Linked DNA regions of Homo sapiens: regions 2, 3, 4, 5, 6 and 7 are each linked to region 1. The links are contacts of gene promoters, found by promoter capture Hi-C in blood cells and fetal thymus (Javierre and others, 2016). All regions are on one chromosome and are shown on one strand. The core of a region is centred on a gene start or on the middle of the fragment in contact, and the rest is flanking DNA. Distances in the headings are between cores, read along the strand shown.

The links. Contacts are between HindIII fragments. The CHiCAGO score rates a contact against its expected background, and 5 or more counts as called.
Region 2: a contact is called between the fragment with the promoter of ACAD11 here and the fragment with the promoter of ASTE1 in region 1, in 1 of 17 cell types (naive CD8 T cells). The highest score is 5.4, in naive CD8 T cells.
Region 3: a fragment that was not itself captured here is called in contact with the fragment with the promoter of ASTE1 in region 1 in 1 of 17 cell types (total B cells); the score reaches 6.3 in total B cells.
Region 4: a contact is called between a fragment that was not itself captured here and the fragment with the promoter of ASTE1 in region 1, in 1 of 17 cell types (total B cells). The highest score is 7.0, in total B cells.
Region 5: a contact is called between a fragment that was not itself captured here and the fragment with the promoter of ASTE1 in region 1, in 2 of 17 cell types (total B cells and naive B cells). The highest score is 6.9, in total B cells.
Region 6: a contact is called between a fragment that was not itself captured here and the fragment with the promoter of ASTE1 in region 1, in 2 of 17 cell types (naive B cells and total B cells). The highest score is 6.6, in naive B cells.
Region 7: a fragment that was not itself captured here is called in contact with the fragment with the promoter of ASTE1 in region 1 in 3 of 17 cell types (total B cells, naive B cells and total CD4 T cells); the score reaches 14.6 in total B cells.

What each region holds. Positions count from the first base shown.
Region 1 is chr3:131,025,446-131,028,408 of GRCh38, forward strand. ASTE1 (asteroid structure-specific endonuclease 1) reads right to left here and starts at 1,380. Exons shown (of 6, transcript NM_014065.4): 1 at 1,062-1,380; 2 at 29-149. It overlaps NEK11 (NIMA related kinase 11), which reads left to right and starts at 1,432. Exons shown (of 18, transcript NM_024800.5): 1 at 1,432-1,561; 2 at 2,485-2,557. RefSeq lists enhancers at 1,032-1,271, 1,412-1,471, 1,552-1,741. The HindIII fragment of the contact is 10,416 bases long and covers 1,317-2,963 here.
Region 2 is chr3:132,658,341-132,661,303 of GRCh38, forward strand. It overlaps ACAD11 (acyl-CoA dehydrogenase family member 11), which reads right to left and starts at 1,469. Exons shown (of 20, transcript NM_032169.5): 1 at 1,263-1,469. The coding sequence starts at 1,411. UBA5 (ubiquitin like modifier activating enzyme 5) reads left to right here and starts at 1,989. Exons shown (of 12, transcript NM_024818.6): 1 at 1,989-2,358. The coding sequence starts at 2,198. All of the region lies in intron 26 of NPHP3-ACAD11 (NPHP3-ACAD11 readthrough (NMD candidate)), which reads right to left. RefSeq lists enhancers at 1,771-2,309, 1,845-1,934, 2,305-2,584. The HindIII fragment of the contact is 2,892 bases long and covers 1-2,874 here.
Region 3 is chr3:132,639,294-132,642,256 of GRCh38, forward strand. ACAD11 (acyl-CoA dehydrogenase family member 11) reads right to left here. Exons shown (of 20, transcript NM_032169.5): 4 at 2,679-2,840; 5 at 199-363. It overlaps NPHP3-ACAD11 (NPHP3-ACAD11 readthrough (NMD candidate)), which reads right to left. Exons shown (of 45, transcript NR_037804.1): 29 at 2,679-2,840; 30 at 199-363. Among named protein-coding and RNA genes, the nearest start is that of ACAD11, 19 kb to the right of the region's middle. RefSeq lists a silencer at 1,967-2,157. The HindIII fragment of the contact is 621 bases long and covers 1,072-1,692 here.
Region 4 is chr3:132,422,644-132,425,606 of GRCh38, forward strand. The region is part of intron 1 of DNAJC13 (DnaJ heat shock protein family (Hsp40) member C13); the gene reads left to right. Among named protein-coding and RNA genes, the nearest start is that of DNAJC13, 6.6 kb to the left of the region's middle. The HindIII fragment of the contact is 200 bases long and covers 1,337-1,536 here.
Region 5 is chr3:132,392,079-132,395,041 of GRCh38, forward strand. No RefSeq gene overlaps it. Among named protein-coding and RNA genes, the nearest start is that of DNAJC13, 24 kb to the right of the region's middle. The HindIII fragment of the contact is 9,134 bases long and covers 1-2,963 here.
Region 6 is chr3:132,358,306-132,361,268 of GRCh38, forward strand. It overlaps ACP3 (acid phosphatase 3), which reads left to right. Exons shown (of 10, transcript NM_001099.5): 10 at 1-536. Among named protein-coding and RNA genes, the nearest start is that of ACP3, 42 kb to the left of the region's middle. The HindIII fragment of the contact is 5,322 bases long and covers 1-2,963 here.
Region 7 is chr3:132,336,838-132,339,800 of GRCh38, forward strand. ACP3 (acid phosphatase 3) reads left to right here. Exons shown (of 10, transcript NM_001099.5): 5 at 619-717. Among named protein-coding and RNA genes, the nearest start is that of ACP3, 21 kb to the left of the region's middle. The HindIII fragment of the contact is 1,555 bases long and covers 796-2,350 here.

The DNA of each region.
Region 1 (2,963 bases), core at 130-2,629:
CATAGATATCAACATCATAAATTCTTACCTAGATCCTCAAGCAATGTTAGCTGTGCTTTTTCATTCTCCTTTGCTTTCTGATACAAGGCACAAATTCAATGGTTTCATGGGTTGTAATCTTTGGATGGTGACAGAGGCTGCTGCTAATTCTAAAGAAAAATCAGTTGAAGTCCATTACTGACACACCAGTATAGAAGTTCTGTGAACTTTGATTCTTAAGTGGTAATAGTCAACATCTTACAGCACAGAGTATTTGTTTTGTGGGGTCAAAGTAAAAAGTCCTAAGCTAAAAAAAAGATATCATATTCATCTCATAATCACAAAGCATTTGGGCTTCAGTAAAGTAAGGTGTGTAGGACCTATGATAAGGATCAAGTTTTTCTTTTGTATTGACAATCAGTCACGGAACTTCTTTCAGGCTTTGGATTTGTGGGCCCTTCTTAATTGGCATAGTTTTTGGTATAAGGAAAACTGCTTCATGCCTCTAGGAACCCCTCTATCCAGTTACACCCCTAACCACGAGCTCTTTTCATCATCTTATTTTGCATATCTGGCCCAGCTACGCTTCCTCACCTGGCTAACTTAACTCGCAGGATCAGAATTGATGGTTTTTCTTTTGACACCTCGGGCTTCAATATGGCACAGCACGGTACTGTTACTATTACTTAAAATCGTGACATTTTGTCAGTCATGGATTTTTTTTGCTATAATTTTGATTTTTAGAGATTGCATTAAAACTTACCTTGATTACTGAATTTTATTGGCATCCATTTACATTTTACACTTATCTCACCCTAGTTCCAGCCCTGTCAGTATCTCAGAACCTTATCCTGTATAGTACTTATTTCTTTGCAAGATAGTTTTGTAAAGCGTCCATAAGCAGAGACTGTGTCAAGGCGTCCTACGCAAATTACAGGACCTTGCACAGACAGTTGCATAGAGCTGCATAGGGGAAAGGCGGGCAAAAGGTCTGACCTAAGTCTTCAAACACAGGCCTTCATACACCGTGCCACCTCGGCCCTCACAACCCGCCGCCCGGACCTGCAGCAGAGCCCACCTACTCTGTCCTCCCAGAGGAGTAGCTCCTCCATCAGAAGCCCGCTAGAGCCCAGCGAGGACTGGCTCCTGCACGTGAGAGTCCAATCTCAAGAGCGGGAATCGGAAGTCTCCCGGTGTGACGTCTCTGGGAAGTACAGTTCCGTGATGCCGGTGGCGCCAGACTGAGCCAAGGAGCAGGTGTTCTCGGGCCCAGAGGCGCTAAGTAGCTAAAGAGGGCTGGGACGTACGTTCCGAAATGGCTGCTGTCAGGCTAGGAAAGCTTGGCCCGCCGGTCCTCCTCTGCTTTCTCCGCCTACTTGGGTCGGCGAACACTTCCGCCTTGGTGCCGCCTCGCCCCGACTTCCCAGTATGCCCCGCGCCGTCTCCCTGGCCACGGTTCCAAACAGCCGTGGCCCGCGGTGTCTGGCGCTCGGTGGGTGTGGTTGCCCCTAGTTTGAGGCCTGCCCGATTACCCGCAAGACTTGGGCAGCCCCGGGCGCCGCTCCGACCACGACAGGGAAAGGTAAAGCGAACTGTCCTCCTTGGGGCTAGCCAGGCTCCCCTGCGAGGGGGAAGGTAATGGTTTCAAGCTGCCCGGGCTGGGTTCCGAATCTCTAGGACGCCATGGCTGCGATCTCCTCGCTTTCCTGGACATCTTACCTCCGGATGTACTCCAGTCTCAGTGCCCCTCAATAAACGTTAACCTGCTTTGCCAAAATGTAAATGTTTAAAAAGGTGAAGAAGCAAGGAATTGTTCGTTTTACCTTAAGGTTAAGATTTACTTTAAAGGTAGATTTGTGCTGTAGCAGAAACTGGTGACAAATTGCCTTCCTCTTATTACCTGGGAAGATAACTACTGGTTTTCAACTTGTGATAAATACTCCTTCCGTTGTCTTTTGCCCCCAGCCAGATCTGTTTCACCGAGAACGGGTAGTTTGCACAAGGTAGTAACTTTCTCCAAGTTCCCATCTAGCTTTCTTAACTAACCTTTTTTCTCTCCTTTGGGCGGCAGTTGATCTGCTGGACACTTACTTGCCTTAACAAGGTTTGTTAAACACCTAGTATATGCCAGGAGGTATGCCAGGGATTGGGGATGCAGAAATAAAGAAGATGTGTTCGCAGTGCCCAAGTTCACTCAAACCTCGAGGGGGAGCGTGTTGTCAAGTGAACAGATAGTTCTAGAATCTAGACAATGCGACACATTCTTGGGTAGGTTTATGGTTGCGCAGAGGAGACTAATGGAATGGATGACCTAAAAGTGGACTGGGATGGGGGTGGCAGGGCTGAGTCTGTGAGGGTGGGCGGGAGGGAACCTAGTCCCAGAGTCTTCTGCAGCCTGGACCAGACTACTTAAGCACTGCTGGGTTTAGACTGTCCTTTAAAATAAGAGCCGCTAGAAGTGAACTTCTCATTCTGTCCGTCCCTAATTCTGTCCTTCTCTAAAAGGAACCTTAATCTCATCTTTAAAATAAGGAGAATTACTGAGTGACCTGAAGGACCCTTTTCAGCTGGAAAGTCTGTAAGTCCATATATTTATTTGAACAGCTTAGTATGGCCAGACGGCATCACTTTTATGACAGTGAAGGGGAAGTAAAAACAAAAGGTATATTTAGAGGCCTGCTCTGTAGTTGTTTTTCCAGCAGATTTTACTAACGTGTCTTTGGAAGGGAAAAGAAAAAGCTGGTAACTAATCTCACTGGTATTAGGTACAACTTAACTGATTCATACATTTTAAGAAGGAAAATGTTGTAAATGGGCATTTACTTATGTTCTGTTTTGAGGATTTTTGTGGTTAATTGCCCTAGTAGTTTTTGTGGTTGACGGACACCACCACGTAAAGCCCATTGACCATCCTTAAAAACTAGGTTTTTGTCTCATAGCTTTGGAATTGTTGAATATGAAAACCTAACTTCAAGGTGTAGGCA
Region 2 (2,963 bases), core at 219-2,718, 1.6 Mb after region 1:
GGAAGCAATTTTTATACCACAACTAATTTACAACTAATTTCATTTTTTGAACACGGTTATGGTTTAACATTCAGCTTGGTTCAGAATTAAGTATCTTTCAGTTATGTACCTCTTCAACACTCCTACAATATGAACGTTACTATCTCCTTTTTGCCAAAGCAGGACTAGATGTTCAAAGGGTAACTTGTCCAAATTCCACAGCAATTGAAATAGTTGAAATTTGAACTTTGATCTGTTTCAGTTTGTTACAACACAAGGCTTCTAGCCTAGAAATCTCAGCTATTCTTTATTCCACCTTTCCCTTCATCTTCCAATATCTATTGGGACATGGGACCTTTAAATTCTACACCCTAAAATGTTCCCTGATCCATCTCATTTATTATTATTTTCATTTTCACCAAAATCAGTAGTCAAAGAATATAAATGCTAGTGATAAAATACCACTAGCACACTATGTTGTTGCAATTTTTACGCCCTTTCACCTATATTACGGTATTTCATTTCATTAATAAGACTAATCAAAATAGGTATTACAACTTAGGAAACTAGTTCTCAGAGTGTTTATGTAACATATTTAAACTCCCAGACAGCAAGTGACAGATCCAGTTTTCTGAATGATAGGACTCTTTCTGTAGCCCTGTATTAGTAACAATGTTATTTTTAGAATAAAGTTTTAAGAATGTATTATCTATTGTAAAACATCAGACTAAAGCCAGATTCCCGGTGGGGAACGCTACTCTCAGGATCCTCTCACTCAGTTCCATTACCTCACTTCAAAAAACCTGAGGCCCAAAGTGGTGCTGTGACCTCCTAAGTGGAAAAGCTAGTACTCGAATTCGGATCCTCCATCTGGTGTCATTAACTCAGCCTCCCGGAATACGGCCAATCAAACGGAATTACACCAGCTTCTCAGAAAAAGATCTAATGGCTGTATCACAAAAGAAGGCATCTATTTCTCAGAATTTGTAGCCTTAATTGCCTTGGTGAATCCTCAAGGGACATAAATCCATCCTTTAACAAAGATTCCTTTGGATAGTAGAATGGTGAACGTTATTGCGCTTCCATTACCGCCCTCCAATTGGGAAGCCCCCAGCATCGAATTCGGAGGGCCGGCAATAGCAGCTCATGCCTGTAGGGTGCGTCCACTGACTGCAGGAAAAGCAATCAGGGTGGGAGAAACTTAGGAAACCACCCAGGGCCAAAGGAAGGAAAACTCAATGTACAAATTTTTTTCCGCTGGAGGCAAAGGCTGACATCCATACCTGTACTGGGCAATGGTCAGCGTAGCCTCACGTTCGGCCCCAAAGCCAGACAAGTGCTGGTTTAGGTAGGCCTCCAGGGACTTGCTGTCGAACTTGTGCTGGGGCAGCACTTCGGCCAAATCGGACTCGCCAGTAGCACCTGGCTTCATGATCACCCCCGCAGGCCACAGCAACGCGGCATCCACAGGTCTCGAGTGCCGAAGTCCTTCAGGATTGGGGCAACGTCCCCTCTAGAGCATGGGCCGAGGCCGGGGTGGGGTCTGGCTCCAGCCAACCGCACACAGCCTACGCGCCGTTGCTGAGCAACGCTTGCCCGCTGAATCCCGAGGTTTTAGCTCTAGTCAAGTGCCAAAAGAGCCCAATGTGTGTTCGGGTTTCAATTCTCCAGTCAGCGTCAGAGTTGGAGGCCTCAATTTTAAAGAAGGCAAAGCCATGGTCATCGTTGCGGGTAAGGAACAACGCAGAAGCCTCTTCCACCCCCAAATTTAATGCAACAGCAGGCGGAAGACCTGCAGGGTCCCGTTCAGAAAAAGGGCCGTCAGACTGTCGAGCCTAAGAATAAAAAGACCCTGTTTCTCTTAGATACCCGGTTAGCAAGGCAACATCGCTGGCCTCCTGCCCTGGACACTTATCACCCCGGTGCTGCTGCGGCCGGGTTTAGCCGGCCCAGCGAGGAAGGAAGCCGAAAGAGCCAGGTTTTTGATGAGGGGGAGCGATGTCTGCGACGCACCGGAAGCGGCTCCGAGGAAGGCCTGTGGGAGTCTCGGAGACGTGTCTGTCTGTGAGGCGCTGGGTGCACGTCCCCAGGGCTCTGGGCTAGGAAGGCAGCGGCGAGGTGCCTCCCCACGTACCCCTCGCGGGCCCAGCCGAGCAACGTGGGGCGAAGGCGGCGGCGAAGGCCCGGGCTGGGAGCGTTGGCGGCCGGAGTCCCAGCCATGGCGGAGTCTGTGGAGCGCCTGCAGCAGCGGGTCCAGGAGCTGGAGCGGGAACTTGCCCAGGAGAGGAGTCTGCAGGTCCCGAGGAGCGGCGACGGAGGGGGCGGCCGGGTCCGCATCGAGAAGATGAGCTCAGAGGTGGTGGATTCGAATCCCTACAGGTAACCTGCGTCGCCGGTCGGAGGCAGGCGCGGGGGACGAGGTCAGGCTCCGTGAGGTCAGAAGTGAGGCGCTTCCCACGTCCCGCTCATGGGGACGCCCGCCACCCTTTTCTTGGTCTGCGAATCCTGTTCCCAAATGGGCAAGGCCACATCTTAGTACTGATCGGAAGATATTCTTTCTCTTTTTTAAAAACCTCCAGTGAGTCAGCCATATGGTGCTGCTCCTGTGCCTGCTGAGGACGTGTGTCCAGTTTCCTATCACCCTTGCCTCTTAATTAGTCCGCCTCGCTGTGTATAAGACTGATAGTAAGAACTTTCAGAAGATGAGATCAAATATTAAACCTGCTAAGGTAAACTTTGAGTTTCATTAAAGGCTTATCAATGCATCTTAAATGGGGTCGGGGCGGGGGAGAGCGGGGTTAGCTCTATTCTGAGATATTCGGGTGCTCCTTAACATCTCAAACCATTCGACATTACCAAGACTGCCCAGGCCTCTCTTTTCTTCTTTCCTAACAAAGCTTATCAATTCAGCAGATGGAATATAGTGCAATGGTTAAGGGTAAGGACTCTACCGCCAGACTGATTGCAATTCAAATCTAACTACT
Region 3 (2,963 bases), core at 132-2,631, 1.6 Mb after region 1:
TCTCAAAGGTAGGCAGCTAACTTATGCTGGAAAATCTGCAGGACTCCTTTCTAAAAATTTTGAGTGGTGACGACAGTCCTGAGCTGTAGGGGAACAGGGAGTGGGTTGGGCTCCCTCAGTGCTCTGGGGGGAGCATTTACTTAGTACTGTGTCACAAAACAGACCTACTCAATTAATTGTAAACATAGCTAACTGTACCTCTTTAGGGTGGAAAACTATGTTATCTAGTCTGAAATCTCCATGAATCAAATTCTCTTCATTGTCATTATCGGGCAAGTTCTTCATTAGCCACTCCGATAGCTGTTGCATGGCAGGGATGTCCTGATGAGCTGCAGCTTGATATTGCTTTGTCCAGGTTGATACCTAAAGACATATAAATAAGAAAAATGGTAAAGCTGAAACTGGAATGTAGGATCTAGCAATTCTAAAATTAAAACAAAATTCAAATGCTGTTTTACTCCTAAATACTTAAGACCCATGCTGGTGATACTCCTGTCATCCTAAAACACTCAAATCAGCCTAAACCTTAAACATTTAAGTCTCTTTTCCATATAGTTCCATTTTACTTACCTAGTTTTTTATCAAGAGAAAAATACTGGCCTAGGGATCAAGAGATATGGGTTCTAGTCTTTATTCAGCAACTACTTTGTAGAAGAAAAAAAAAGAATGCATACAAACACACACACGCACACACACACTCTCTCTCACACACACACACACACACACAAATATATAGGCATAGATAATCTCTGGAAAGGGTCACGAGAAATAAGTAACCCCTGAAAAAGGGAATATGGGGACTAGAAGAAAAAAGAAGACATTTACTTTTTTTTTTTTTGAGACAGAGTCTCGCTCTGTTGCCCAGGCTGGAGTGCTACCTCCACCTCCCAGGTTCAAGTGATTCTCCTGCCTCAGCCTCCTAAGTAGCTGGGATTACAGATGCATACCACCACACCCAGCTAATTTTTGTATTTTTAGTAGAGACGGAGTTTCACCATATTGGTCAAGCTGGTCTCGAACTCCTGACTTCGTGATCCGCCTGCCTTGGCCTTCCAAAGTCCTGGGATTACAAGCTTCAGCCACCGCGCCCAGCCTACTTTTCATTTTAATACTCTTTCTTATTACCCACAGAATTTTCTAAATATTTTACAGGTATGAATAGTGTAAAGATCTTCTATTGTTCTTAGAATTGAATGCAAACAAATCAACTTACTCGTAAAGTCCTCCAACAGGTGGGACCATATTGTTTATTTGCTTTTTTATCTCCATTTCCCGAGGTATCTTTGCTCAACTTAGTGCAATAGAGCAAAGACCTTTACTTGGTCTTATCTAGTCATATCAACCTGGGTTTAAATTATATCTAAGCCACTTACTTGTGTATTACTTGATTGATGCAAGCCTCCCTTTCTTCATCTGCAAAATGGGAGTAATAATACCTATATCTTAGAGTTGTTGTAAAGATCAAAAAAGAGAGGCCGACAACTCACTCTGCCATGTAGGACCTAGCATATAGTGAGTACACTCTAAACTTTAGTTCCCTTTTCTCTTCCTTAACCCCCACAAAATGATATGCTTACAAAGGAAAGCAGCCCCATATATATCTAGTATTGCTTTCCTTTAATTTAAAATGATCTCCATCACTCCAAATTTTATCTTTCCTTAAATACTCATTATAAGATATCTCTCCCAGGAAGCTTTCTCTATATAAGCAAGGGCATCCCAACTTCCACCCTTTGAATCATGGTGAGTATCAAACAATTTACCACTAGATTTTACACTCTTTTATACCATTTTCAGGTTTCGTGAATGACATGCATGTACAGGTCTCTCAAAAATGACCATAAGTTCCTGTGGGGAAGAACCTATTGTATATTTTTCTTGATATTTAACACAGTACTCAGCAGGTATTAAACACACAGTCAAGCTTAATAAATGTCTGCTAGTCCAATTGAGAAAGAAAAAACTGTAAGCCGGGCATGGTGGCTCACGCCTGTAATTCCAGCACTTTGGGAGGCTGAGGCGGGCGGATCACGAGGTCAGGAGATTGAGACCATCCTGGCTAACACGGTGAAACCCCATGTCTACTAAAAATACAAAAAAATTAGCAGGGCGTGATGGCGGGAGCCTGTAGTCCCAGCTGCTCGGGAGGCTGAGGTAGGAGAATGGCGTGAACCTGGGAGGTGGAGCTTGCAGTGAGCAGAGATTGCACCACTGCACTCCAGCCTGGGCAACAGAGGGAGACTCTGTCTCAAAATGATGATGATGATGAAGAAGAAGAAGAAGAAGAAGAAGAAGAAGAAGAAGAAGAAGAGGAGGAAGAAGAGGAGGAAGAAGAGGAGGAAGAAGAGGAAGAAGAGGAGGAAGAAGAGGAGGAAGAAGAGGAAGAGGAAGAGGAAGAGGAAGAGGAAGAAGAAGAAGAAGAAGAAGAAGAAGAAGAAAAAACTGTATAGTTAAAAGTATTGGAAAATTAAGAGTCTAAAACAGAAGATTTTGCTGAACAAAACCTAATATAAAAACATAAGATAATTTTATACTAAAAACTAGTCATTCTGAAGGACAATGTTAAAAGTCATGGCCAAGCTTCAGAAAACTATACAATAATAGCTTTTTTTGTTGACTAATAAGGTATATTATTTACAAGAACTTGAAAAAAATAGCTATTAATGTGGATGCATTACCTGTCTTTTGCAGTACCCAGCACCTATACCATATCCTTCCAGCTGCAGTGACTGTATATTCAAGGAATGTAACTGAGCCAATGTTTCTACCGTGGCCACATATATGGCTGAACGTTCTGCTGGGCTAAGTCCAGGAATTGTTAAATCACGGAAGATTCGACCCTATGGAAGTGATTACAACAGATTATTTAAATGTGTATAATCAATACTTTGTCGAATATACTAGAAAAACATTCATTTGTGAAACATATTTAATATTAGAGTATACATGCCAAAGGGAAAATA
Region 4 (2,963 bases), core at 187-2,686, 1.4 Mb after region 1:
AACAAATAGTTTAAACCAACATGGTTATGATCATCTTTGCTAATTTAAGATAGTTACCTGTGCAAAGGTACATTTAGGTGTGGTTCAGTCAATAAAACCATATAGCTTGCTAGTAATTCTTTTCAGATGCTCTTTATTCAATAGTCGACATATGGGAGTTTTACTTGTACTTTCATGGACTACTTGTGAAAAAGAGTGAGCTTTAAAGTCAGTGGAATTTTACAGTTTAAGCACTCAAGTTGCCCTTAGAAGAACACTGCCTAGTCACATATTTAGCACATGCCCAGTGGTAATATCTCTTTGCAATGGATTAATAAGAGTTTGATATTTTGATTATCAGATAGAAAACAAAACCCCTAAAGCAATCCAGAATTATTTTAGCTGGGTGCACAATAATCACACGTGTAATCCCAGCACTTGGAAGGCTGAGGCGGGAGGATCACTCGAGGCCAGGAGCTCCAACCTAGCTTGAGCAACCCCGTCTCATCAAAAAATGAAATAACTAGCTGGCTGTGGTGACGTGTGCTCGGGAGGCTGAGGCAGGAGGATTGCTTGAACCCAGGAGACTGAGATTACAGTGAGCTATGATTGTGTTGCTGCGTTTCAGTCTGGGTGACAAAGGAAGACCCTGTCTCTTAAAAAAAATTATTTCGACGCTTTGATTTTTGCCAGCTCTAGTTGCCACAACTTAATGGAAGGGTTGGTGAGGTTATGAATGGAGGAGATGTTCTCTAATATTTCATGTATTCTGTAATACATTTAAACGCTTATACATGGTGTTCTCACTTTTATTGTATTCCTTAGTCATCTAAGGCTATGGGGTTTCTCTCCTCAAACTTCTAGTCAAGCTACAGAATGTATTTTGAATGTTTATCAAATCTTAGAGCAGATAAGCCATTTTCCCCCCAAATCTTAGCACTAATGGGCTTAATTTTAAAAGTGAAACTTTGCTTTTTTAAGATAATTTGGTAGTGTTCTATAAACTGTAAAGCGCCACAGAAGAGGTAGGAATAATAGGGATATTTCAGAACTAAACTAGAAATGTATGTTTTTGCTATTTTGTATTGAGTGAAGGGGAAATTGTAGCAAATTAAACTTTTGTCTTTTAATAGTATAAAAAGAACAGTGTTTGGGTTTTCAGGATGCTTTCTGTAAAACTGTCTTCAAGTTGTATGTGTTAAAAGCTTAGGAAATTTAGTCCCGCATTATGCATTTACTGTAATGATAGGAAAAACAGCAACAAGTTAAAATATGGCTGCTAAAAATTTCTTTTGCCCATTTCAGGGCCTGTTTACCATAGTAGAGCATGATTATTAAGTGCCTTAATAAGCTGATAAGCTTAATAAGTTGATAAGCTGAAGACCTTACAGAAATAGTATAGTTTGTTCTTGCATAAGCCAGGTTATGCTTCAAAGATAAAATGAAATAGAAATTAGGTCTATAAAGTTACAATAATGTGTATAAACTAAAAATATGTAAATGATCAATAGCAATGATTTCAAAGCATTGCTTAAGTGAACATGTTTCTGGAAAGAAAGCTTTCAGGTGAGTATTTTAAGGCATTTTTAAGCTTTGGAAAGGGAAGGGTCATAGTAATACATCTTTCACAGAAAATTTGAATTTTTTTAACAACAGATAAACTTCTGTTTTGTCAGAAATACAAATTATTCCCCTCAGATGAAATGAGCATACATGTGATAGAAATAGAAGAGACAGGTCTCTTTTCAATACTTGATTTATACTGTTGAATAGAAGAGGTCAAAAAAAGTAACTGCTATGGTAAGTATGCTTGTCCCCTCCTCCCATTAAGTGTTTCTTCAGATTTAGGGGTTGCTTTTGAATTTTTCTTGCCCTGTATTTCATTAATATATACTCAGTTTGTAATAGAAAGGAATCAAGTTTTTAAAAACAATGGTGGAGATCTCATATTATTTCAGCTACCCTATGGTAGTGAAACTAGTTAAAAGTTGATTATGATGTGACAGTACAATCACTTCACTTTAAAATATCTGGGCAATTATTTGAAGATATGATTATCAGATGAAATTTGATATTACCGCTGGCTTTTTTTATTCTTCAACGACATCTATCTCTGGAGGTATCGGGTTCTTCAGTAAGTTAAGGAAGGCTAAGATGGTAGGTACTAAAATCTTTGTGATGTATTTATGGTTTGTTTTAAGATTCCTGTTGGTATCATACATATTACACATACTGATTTGTTGTTCATTTAGAAGAAAATGCTTTTACCTGTACTTGAGTCATATATTAAAATGAAGCTAAAATTTAAAAATAGGGTTAAAGTTCATATGGCAGTTTCCCCCATACACAGCACATTCTATCTAAACAGTTTAGTTGTAGCTATTTAATCTGGGTAAAAATGAACATTCTGTTAGCCATTCATATTTTTTACCATTTGTTTGAAACCAAACTAATCTAGTGCTATGATTTACTCAGATTTTGAATCCAGTTACAAACAAACCTAGATCCTCAAGAAGCCAATATAAGATATTCTATCTATTACTCTTATTAGTTATTTTTTCAAAGGGTTAGTCTTTCCATGGTTCTCCTTACTACCCCTCCCTTTTTGGTAAGATATAGCTGTAGGAAGTATTACGTTCATAAATTAGTTCCTATGATGTGAATGTCTGCTACATTTTAAGTGTGGTTTTGGAATGTAGCATTGTTTCTGTTGTAGGAGAGTTTGATCAGAAAAGGCAAACTCCACAATTTTCACCCAACATATTGTAAACATTTTCACCTACAGCCAGGTTGAAAGAACTTTACATTAGATACCCACATGCCCACCTAAAGGTTTTTACATTAACATTTTACTGTACTTGCTTTATCACAGATCTGTCCATCTTTCCATCAATCCATCTTATTTTTTATGCATTTCAAAACAAATTCACATTTTTAGTTATTGAGGGCAGAGCTAATGAAAGTAAGTTCCGTTCTTGCATTTT
Region 5 (2,963 bases), core at 302-2,801, 1.4 Mb after region 1:
TATATTTCTTAAATATTGCAATTGTCTAAACGTTGTATATTTTAAGGCTGTTTTCTCTTGCTCTCAATGTTGAGGAAAACTATAAATTGACCTATAATGCATCTACTGCTAATGGTTTTGGTTAGTTTGATATTCATTGTTTTTAAACAGTTTCCAATATGGAAATTTTAACACCTTTTATACAGTTCTCTACTATTCAAGATAAAGATTCTTTAAAATATCTCACCAGAAACTTATAATTTTATACTTTGTAATATTTAGTTTCTATAATTTGAGGAAGGGACTTTTTCATTTGGATTAAGTAAAAAGCCTTTATTTGATTGCCAGCATGAGAATTCACCTTGGTTTCTATTTTATGCATTTGTAAATTTTTTCCCTAATTACATGGAAGCTATTGGAACTTTTGTATTCAATGCTAAATACTAAGTCAAAGGGAGTATAATAGGTAAGTTTTTTCAGTTACTGTGTCTTTAGCATTCAGTCATTATAAGAAAATGATCATAAGAAAATCATTATATTATAAACATGTAATTATTTCATATAATGATTATCATGTACTGCAATGTTACTTTTAAAATAAGCTATTAAACTAGTTTTTATGTTTCAACTAATGCAAAAAAAAATAAAGAAATATCTGAGACTGGCTAATTTATAAAGAAAAGAGGTTTAATTGACTCACAGTCCCACATGGCTGGGGAGGCCTCAGGAAACTTACAACCATGGCAGAATGCACCTCTTCATAGGGTGGTAGGAGAGAGAACGAGAGCTGAGTGAAGGGGGAAACCCCTTACAAAACCATCAGATCTTGTGAGAACTCACTCACTATCATGAGAACAGCATGAGGGGAACCTGCTGTTTGGATGGGGACACAGAGTCAAATCATATCAGGGGTTTTCTTCAATCTTCTTACACACATCTTGAAATGACAACTATTGTTAAAGTGATGGAAATTTCATTTGGTAGAACAACAGGCAGATATGTGATCTTATTAAAACTGTTACTATGATTGAGGATTTCTTTCTAAGGGAATACAACATTCTCAGCATTCTCCCCCAACAAAACAAAAGAAACAGATTTCAAAACAAGGTCAAATGTAATAGAGCGCTTAAAAAATAAAAACCATTAAAATTGTAAAGACAGATTCTACAGGAGAGCCAGATTAAGTTATTACCAATTTAATCTGAAAGTAGATATTGTAGAAAGAAAGAAACAAGGAAAGGGTTTGTTTTACAAAGATTTGTTATCTTATTAATAACAAAATAGAATAATGTCAAACAGAAAAAAATATTGAATGTAGGTGGCAGATATCTTTCCAACTCTCTTTAGTCTCTTGCTACATCTTAACTTCCTTATTATAAAAGTAAATTGCGTCTCCTCTGGGCCCAGTTTCAATGACCTCAATGAAGCTGACATGCAACATCTACAAAATTACACAGGTACATGGATGCCCTTTAGTAACTGGTTGACTTCAAGCAGGTCTGGCCATGAAGTCAGACTATGAAGCAAGTTTCCCAGGATGGAAAAACATGCATTCTCCCTCCCACAAGCCAAAAGAAAATAATGAATGGCCCCTTCTGAAAGGACACAAATCCTGGGTACAGTGGGCTAGAAATTTTTCCAAGTTACTTGAAGTCACTTAGTTTATCTCCTTTCTCCTTCCTACACAGATAATCTTCCTGGCCTCTTGAGAGCACCATTCAGTCCAGGGTATTCTTAATGCACAAAATTACCACTTTTGGTCTTCTGAAAGACTGACAGGGACAGACTGAGATGAGAAAAAAATGTATTTCCTGCTTAGGATGAAGTTCAAGACATTAAACATATATACACATAAAACAATTAGAGAAACCATACATAATGGTACAATCTAACGTTGAATGTTGTGGCACAGGCTTTAAGCATTATAGGATTTCTTCTTCCTGATGGTACAATTCAATTCAACATGCAGTTTTTTTGAATAATGTTTACCACTTGTATACATGAGTGTAACCATGACCACAAGATGAATTTTTTTTTTAAAAAAAGACCCAAACGCAGAACATTTTCAAGAAATTTCAGAACACTTTGGGCATGGAGAGCATTGTGAAAGATTCTAGAGGGGGACCACTATGTCCTACAAAGAAAAAAGAATGTAATTTCTTATTAGAATACCTAGATGCTATAACTTCAACTTTCTGAGAAAAATAATTATGGACCTAACATTCCACACTCAGTAAAAATATCAATCAAGTGAGAAAGTGAGAGGGAAAAATTGAGGTCACTTTCCAGCATGTAAAAATTCATCAAGTTGATTTATCATGCACCCTTTCAAGAAAATTACTTGAAGATGTTCTCCAGCCAGAACAAGAATTAAGTCCAAGAAACGTAAAAACTTGAGATCCCAGAACACTGACTCCAACCCAGGACTTGGGTGGAAAAAAACTCAGGATGACAGCTTGGCATCCAGCCCAGAGAGCAGCTGGTTCAGATTGTAATAAGAAGTCAGATGGTTCTGGGAAATCCGTCTTCAACAATTATATTACATCACTTATCAAAGATGGAATATGTTTAAGGCAGATACATCATCTTAGTGTTTGATGAAGGCATACAATAAAAAATAAAATAAGACACTTTGAAATCATAGGATAGTAAACAATGTTAACACAATCACAATAGAAATACTGTGCATTGATATTTTTGATTTTAGATTCAACCAATGAATAAAGCATGCAAGGATTAATTATGATTACAGAAGAGATGACCAAAGCTAACAAAAGTTGTTAGGATGGGAGAACAGTGCATACAGAAGAGTAGGGAAAGAAGTAGAGGGAAGGATAGGAGTCCTAATTTACTCATCTTACTAATAACAGCTAACATTGGGTACTTAACATTGTGCTCATTCAGAGATAAGCATGAATTAATTCAGCTAATCTCCCAAAATGAGAAAACTGAGGTGTATTAGTCAGGGTTCTCTTAGACGAACA
Region 6 (2,963 bases), core at 249-2,748, 1.3 Mb after region 1:
TCAAAACTTATTGGAATGTTGAGAGTGTGGTTACGAAATACGTTAGGAGGACAAAAGGAATGTGTAAGTCTTTAATGCCGATATCTTCAGAAAACCTAAGCAAACTTACAGGTCCTGCTGAAACTGCCCACTCTGCAAGAAGAAATCATGATATAGCTTTGCCATGTGGCAGATCTACATGTCTAGAGAACACTGTGCTCTATTACCATTATGGATAAAGATGAGATGGTTTCTAGAGATGGTTTCTACTGGCTGCCAGAATCTAGAGCAAAGCCATCCCCGCTCCTGGTTGGTCACAGAATGACTGACAAAGACATCGATTGATATGCTTCTTTGTGTTATTTCCCTCCCAAGTAAATGTTTGTCCTTGGGTCCATTTTCTATGCTTGTAACTGTCTTCTAGCAGTGAGCCAAATGTAAAATAGTGAATAAAGTCATTATTAGGAAGTTCAAAAGCATTGCTTTTATAATGAACTTAGAAAAACGTATGTGTGTGTGTTTAATTAGAATAAAATTCCTCTAGGCAGATTTCAGGAGCTCCCTTTGTGTTTGGGGTTTTTGTTTTAGTATAACAAGATGGAAAATATTAATATAAAGTAAAATGATTTGACTGGCTTAAATGAACATTTTACATTGAAAATATAGTTTGGACTTTACCACTTCAGATAAAGGTGAAGCTGTGGATGGCTCTGCCTCATCTATTTAAGATGGAATTTGCTAAGGAAACACCCTCAGGAAGTGCACAATATACTAGGGAAGTAAAGAGATACATACTGTACAACATGGAAAAACCAGGGCTATGTCTTATGACTACACAGATTACTGTGGGAACAAGAGTTATCCAGATTTGGAGTAGGGGAAGTAAGGAAGGTCAGGAAAGGCTTTCTGCAGAAGGTAGCAACTGTACCACGTAAAATCAGTTTGAGGCCAGGCGAGGTGGCTCAGGCCTGTAATCCCAGCACTTTGGGAGGCCAAGGTGGGCGGATCACAAGGTCAGGAGATTGAGACCATCCTGGCTAACACGGTGAAACCCCATCTCTACTAAAAATACAAAAAGCCGGGCATGGTGGCGGGCACCTGTAGTCCCAGCTACTCGGGAGGCTGAGGCAGGAGAATGGCGTGAACCCGGGAAGCGGAACTTGCAGTGAGCCGAGATCGCGCCACTGCACTCCAGCCTGGGCAACAGAGCGAGACTCTGTCTAAATAAATAAATAAATAAATAAATAAATTTGTTACCTTTTCCCCTGACCCTACTCTTGTCTATCTTGATGAGCAGCAATACCTGGTAACTTAGGAGTTATTTTTTACCCTACCCTCTCCTTCATTCTCCATAGTCTCTCACCTCCTCTTGTAAATCTACCTGTGGTATGTTTGCAGAATTCTTTCCCTCAAAACACAAATAACAATATGCAGGTAGAGTGAAATATGATTAAGCAGCAAAAAATGTTAATAGAAAGAAAAATGTAAGGGTTGATGTGCTGCAGCCCGCTCATACAGATCTCAAGAGTGGAATGTGTCCATCAGTTCCCAACTCTCAGTTCAACCACTTCACCTGGGCAGCTCCAATGTGGCAGGAGTATTTTCACCAAAGAAATTAAATGCTACAAATCCTACCACCACACCACTGGTTTGGGCTCATAGAAAGTTTGTTAAGAGTCTGTGACATGAGGTGGCCTCTAATACAGTGAGTTCAATATTTGAACTTCTGTAAAGAAAAGGATTAGATTTATTCAGTATGATCTTAAAGAGGGATGCTAGGGGCAGCAGGTAAAAATTTCAGGGAGACAGATTTTCGTTCAGTGTTGGGAAACTCCTGAGGTAAGAAGTGCCCATTAGGCTGGGTGGCCACTCACCTTAGAAGAGAGATACTACAGAGAAGGCTGAAACATGGAAGATTGTAGGGGTTGAGTGGCTCATTAGTTTGGCCACCAAATCTAGCAAATAAAAGTACAGGATGCCGAGATAAATTTGACAAAAGGCTGTAACTGCCAAGTTTTTGTAATTCATTGGAAAAAAAAAAAAAAACAATACAGGACACTTAGGATGTTCTGAAAAAGCCGATACAGGAAGCAGGACAAAATCATTAAATATAGGATATGTCCTATATATGCAAGATACTTTGCAACCCTACTCCTTAGAGTAGGGGTTTCCACCCATTAAATTCTATCCATAACTATAAGCAGTGTTTTTAGCTAGTGCCAGTAGGCTCACTTAACCAGATTCCAGATCGTATCAATTAAATTCACCAGAGTCTTTGCTGGAAAATTCACAAGTCTAAGGCCATAGCACATTGCTTGAAAATAATAAAATTTGTCAAACTGCTTCTTTAATTCCAACATTTTACTAACACATTCAGACTTTCTTCACTAGTGCTCTCCCACCCCCATCTCAATGTCCAACTCTAATTATTTCACAAGAAGGAGACTTACTAGTGAGAAGTCCCAGTTTTCTCTCATTATCTTTCTAAAGCTGAGAATCTACAGCACAAATACACATGCCCAAGATTCAACCTTGAGCTTCTTAAAGGCAGGATCCATACATGTTTCCTCTTTGAGTGTTCAGCCAGTAGACAACGCCTAGAACCTTGTGCCTTCAATCAATATTTGCTAACTGAATACATGTCCAGCCCTGCATACCTAGCATGGCTTCCTTGTGGCTGAGCTCAGAAGTCAGAAGCCTGGAACTCAGTTTATTTATAAATAAGAGAGAGAAGCTATGAATGAGCCTCAAAAGTGATTATACTGTAGAGACCCAATCATTGGCCATAAACACATTTCTATGTGCCAACATGTCTGTAGTATTTGACTTCTGTTTTCAGCATAGTTGTTTTGGCATTCTCATGTTCCTCCATTGCTATTAAAAGCCCTTGTTCAATGATATCCCTTGTTCAGTGATATCCCTTGTTCAATGATATCCCTTGTTCAATGATATCCAGCACCGCTCCTCCCTCAAAGATGAGGCCA
Region 7 (2,963 bases), core at 323-2,822, 1.3 Mb after region 1:
CAAACCTGTGGGTTACAGTTAAAATTATAAAACACTGTCAAAATTTAATTAATTTTAGGAAGTTCACTTTGTCCTCACAACAGGTTTTTGAAGTATATTTTTCTAAGTATTTAATACGTACTCTTAACAGTCTGCAAATTTGCAAAACCTGAAGTTAATGAGTGGTTAATTGACTTAAGATTTTTTCCAGAATCAAATTCCTTTCTCCATACATACATGCGTTGGGGTGTGTGTGTGTGTGTGTGTGTGTGTGTGTGTGTGTACAGGTGTGCACCTACTGCAAGAAATGAAAGTGATTGGGAAGGAAGCAAGATAACAGTTATTCACGTGGAAGATCGAGAAGTGTAAATATTTACCACCAACAGCTCAGTTATATTATGGCAAGTTTATGAATGAAAAAAAAGGATTTTCAATTCTGAATACATATCCTACTATTTTAAGACCTATAGATCATTTGATTCTTTCTCCCCAATTTTGGAATTTCCACTCAGCTCAAAACACATTTGAATCTTTTATTAAGGTTGCTTTGAACCTAATGAGGCTTAAAATATTGCTGCAGCATATTTAGCAAAGTTTTTCTGACTCATAACAGTTTTATGATTTTTCTCTTATCCTCAGTTGCTATACCTGCCTTTCAGGAACTGCCCTCGTTTTCAAGAACTTGAGAGTGAGACTTTGAAATCAGAGGAATTCCAGAAGAGGCTGCACCCTTATAAGGTTAAAAGCTAGTTTTGTTTAGTGGTACTTGTTAGTTTGTTAGTGGTACTTGAGTGTGAGGGCCAAGACACAAGATGAAGCTTTGGCTTCTTAAAAAGATGGGACGAATGCATCTGTCAGTGGCTGGTTACAGCAATGGGTTAGAATATTTAATGAGGGAGGTCATCACTCCTGCTTCCCTTCCCCATACAGGGGTCACAAGCCAATAGACAAGCCAGTCCTTTTGAATCCTTTACTCATGGCCTTGAGAGGAACCAGGTGTGAGTAAATGGCTGGATGAGAATAAATATAAGTCTAAAATCACCTGCCTTATTCAGGCTAAGGGGCTGGGATTATTGTCTTCATATACAAAGGATAGTCTTTTTTTTTTGTTTCTATTTTGCAAAGTACCCATTTTCAGCACAATACAAAAGGTAGATATAATGCTGTGTACTTTTTAAAATAATCTTTTGAATATTATACATTCATACTGTCCAAAAATTAGAAAATATAAAAAGGAATACAGTGGAAGCCTCCATGACCCCACAGGTAACCACTAGCATTATTTTCTAGTAGTCTTTTATGTGTTTATTTTATGCAGTCTTTTATGTATTTTATGTAGTATTTTATGCAGTCTTCCAATTTCCTTATGCATATACAAACATAAAAATATATTCTGATAGTTTCTTCTTTTGTTACACGAAAATGGTATACTATTCATAGGGTTGGGCACCTTGGTTTTGTTTTGTTTTTTTTTTTCCATTTAAGAAAATATATTGGAAATATTTCTATATCTGTATGTAAAGAGTTTCCTCCTTTTCTTTCTTTTCCTTTTTTTTAACAAATGTGTAATATTTATATTTATGCCATAATTTATTTAACCAGCCCCTATTGATAGGAATATGGGTCATTTTTCAATCTTTCATTTTTACAAACAGCATGTATGAATAACTTGTGCATCTAAATAGTTTCACAAGAATACCTGTGGGATAATATCCTAGAAGTAGACATTCTGGGTTAATCTGAAATATTATTAATTTACCCTCCAAAGAGGTTTTACTACTTTCTACTTCTATCAGCACTGCATGCAAATGCCCATTTCTCCACAACTTTGCCAACAGTATGTGGACCACTCTGGGGATATTTGCCAATCTGGTAAGTGGAAAATAATATCACTAGAAGCATCCATCTCCTCTAAAATTAGGAATAAGACAAGGAAGCTCACTATTATAACTACTGTACAACATCGTGCTATAGTACTTTTCTTCTTGTGATGAGTGAGTTTGGGTATCTTCATCTAGTTAAATACCATTTTTTGGTTTGTTTTTTGATATTGTATTTCTTTTTTAACTTTTATTTTAAGTTCAGGGGTACAAATGCAGGTTTGTTATATAGGTAAACATGTGTCATGGGGGTTTGTTGTACAGATTATTTCATCACCCAGGTATAAAGCCTAGTACTCATTGGTTATTTTTCCTGACCCTTTGCCTCCTCCCACCCTTCACCTTCCAAGAGGCCCCAGTGTGTCTTCTTCCCCTCTATGTGTCCGTGTATTCTCATCAGTTAAATGCCATTTATATTTCCTTTTATATCAATATCCCTTGACTATTTTTCTTTTGGATGATTGATTTTCCTTTTGCTATAAGTTTTTAGAAGCTTTTTTCTATGTATTTTAACATTTCTGTCTGTGATATTTTGTGTGTGAAAAAAAACACACTCAATGTGTTTTTTCCTATTTTTCTCACTTGAAAACACCAATCAACACAGACAGAAGACTTCTGTGACCAAATATGGGGGATCTCTCTGCAAGAAAAGGCAGCCCGTTCTGCAGTAGACACCAGCTGGGTGGCCTCCAATTCAGTTTTGACACCATCTATTTGGAGATAGCATCAGATCCTACAGGTTGAGGGCTCAGGCCCCAAAACTGGCCACCCCCAACCCGCCACCTCAGACACAGATGAAAGTCCAGACCTCCAAACTTCTGACAGGCTGGCTTTAAGTTGGGGTTCCCACAACTTCCTCTTTGGGTTCGATCAGTTTGCAGGGGCAGCTCACAGAACTCAGGGAAACACAGTTATTGGTTATTACAAAGGATATTACAAAAGATATAAGGAAAAGGTCAAGGAGCTTGCCTGCCTTCTTCAGGACCACCACATTCCAGGAACCTCTAAGTGTTCAGCTCTCTGAAGGCTCTCTGAACCCTCTCCCTTTGGGCTTTTTATGGAGATTTCATTGCATAGGCATGATTGATTAAGCCACAGGCTATT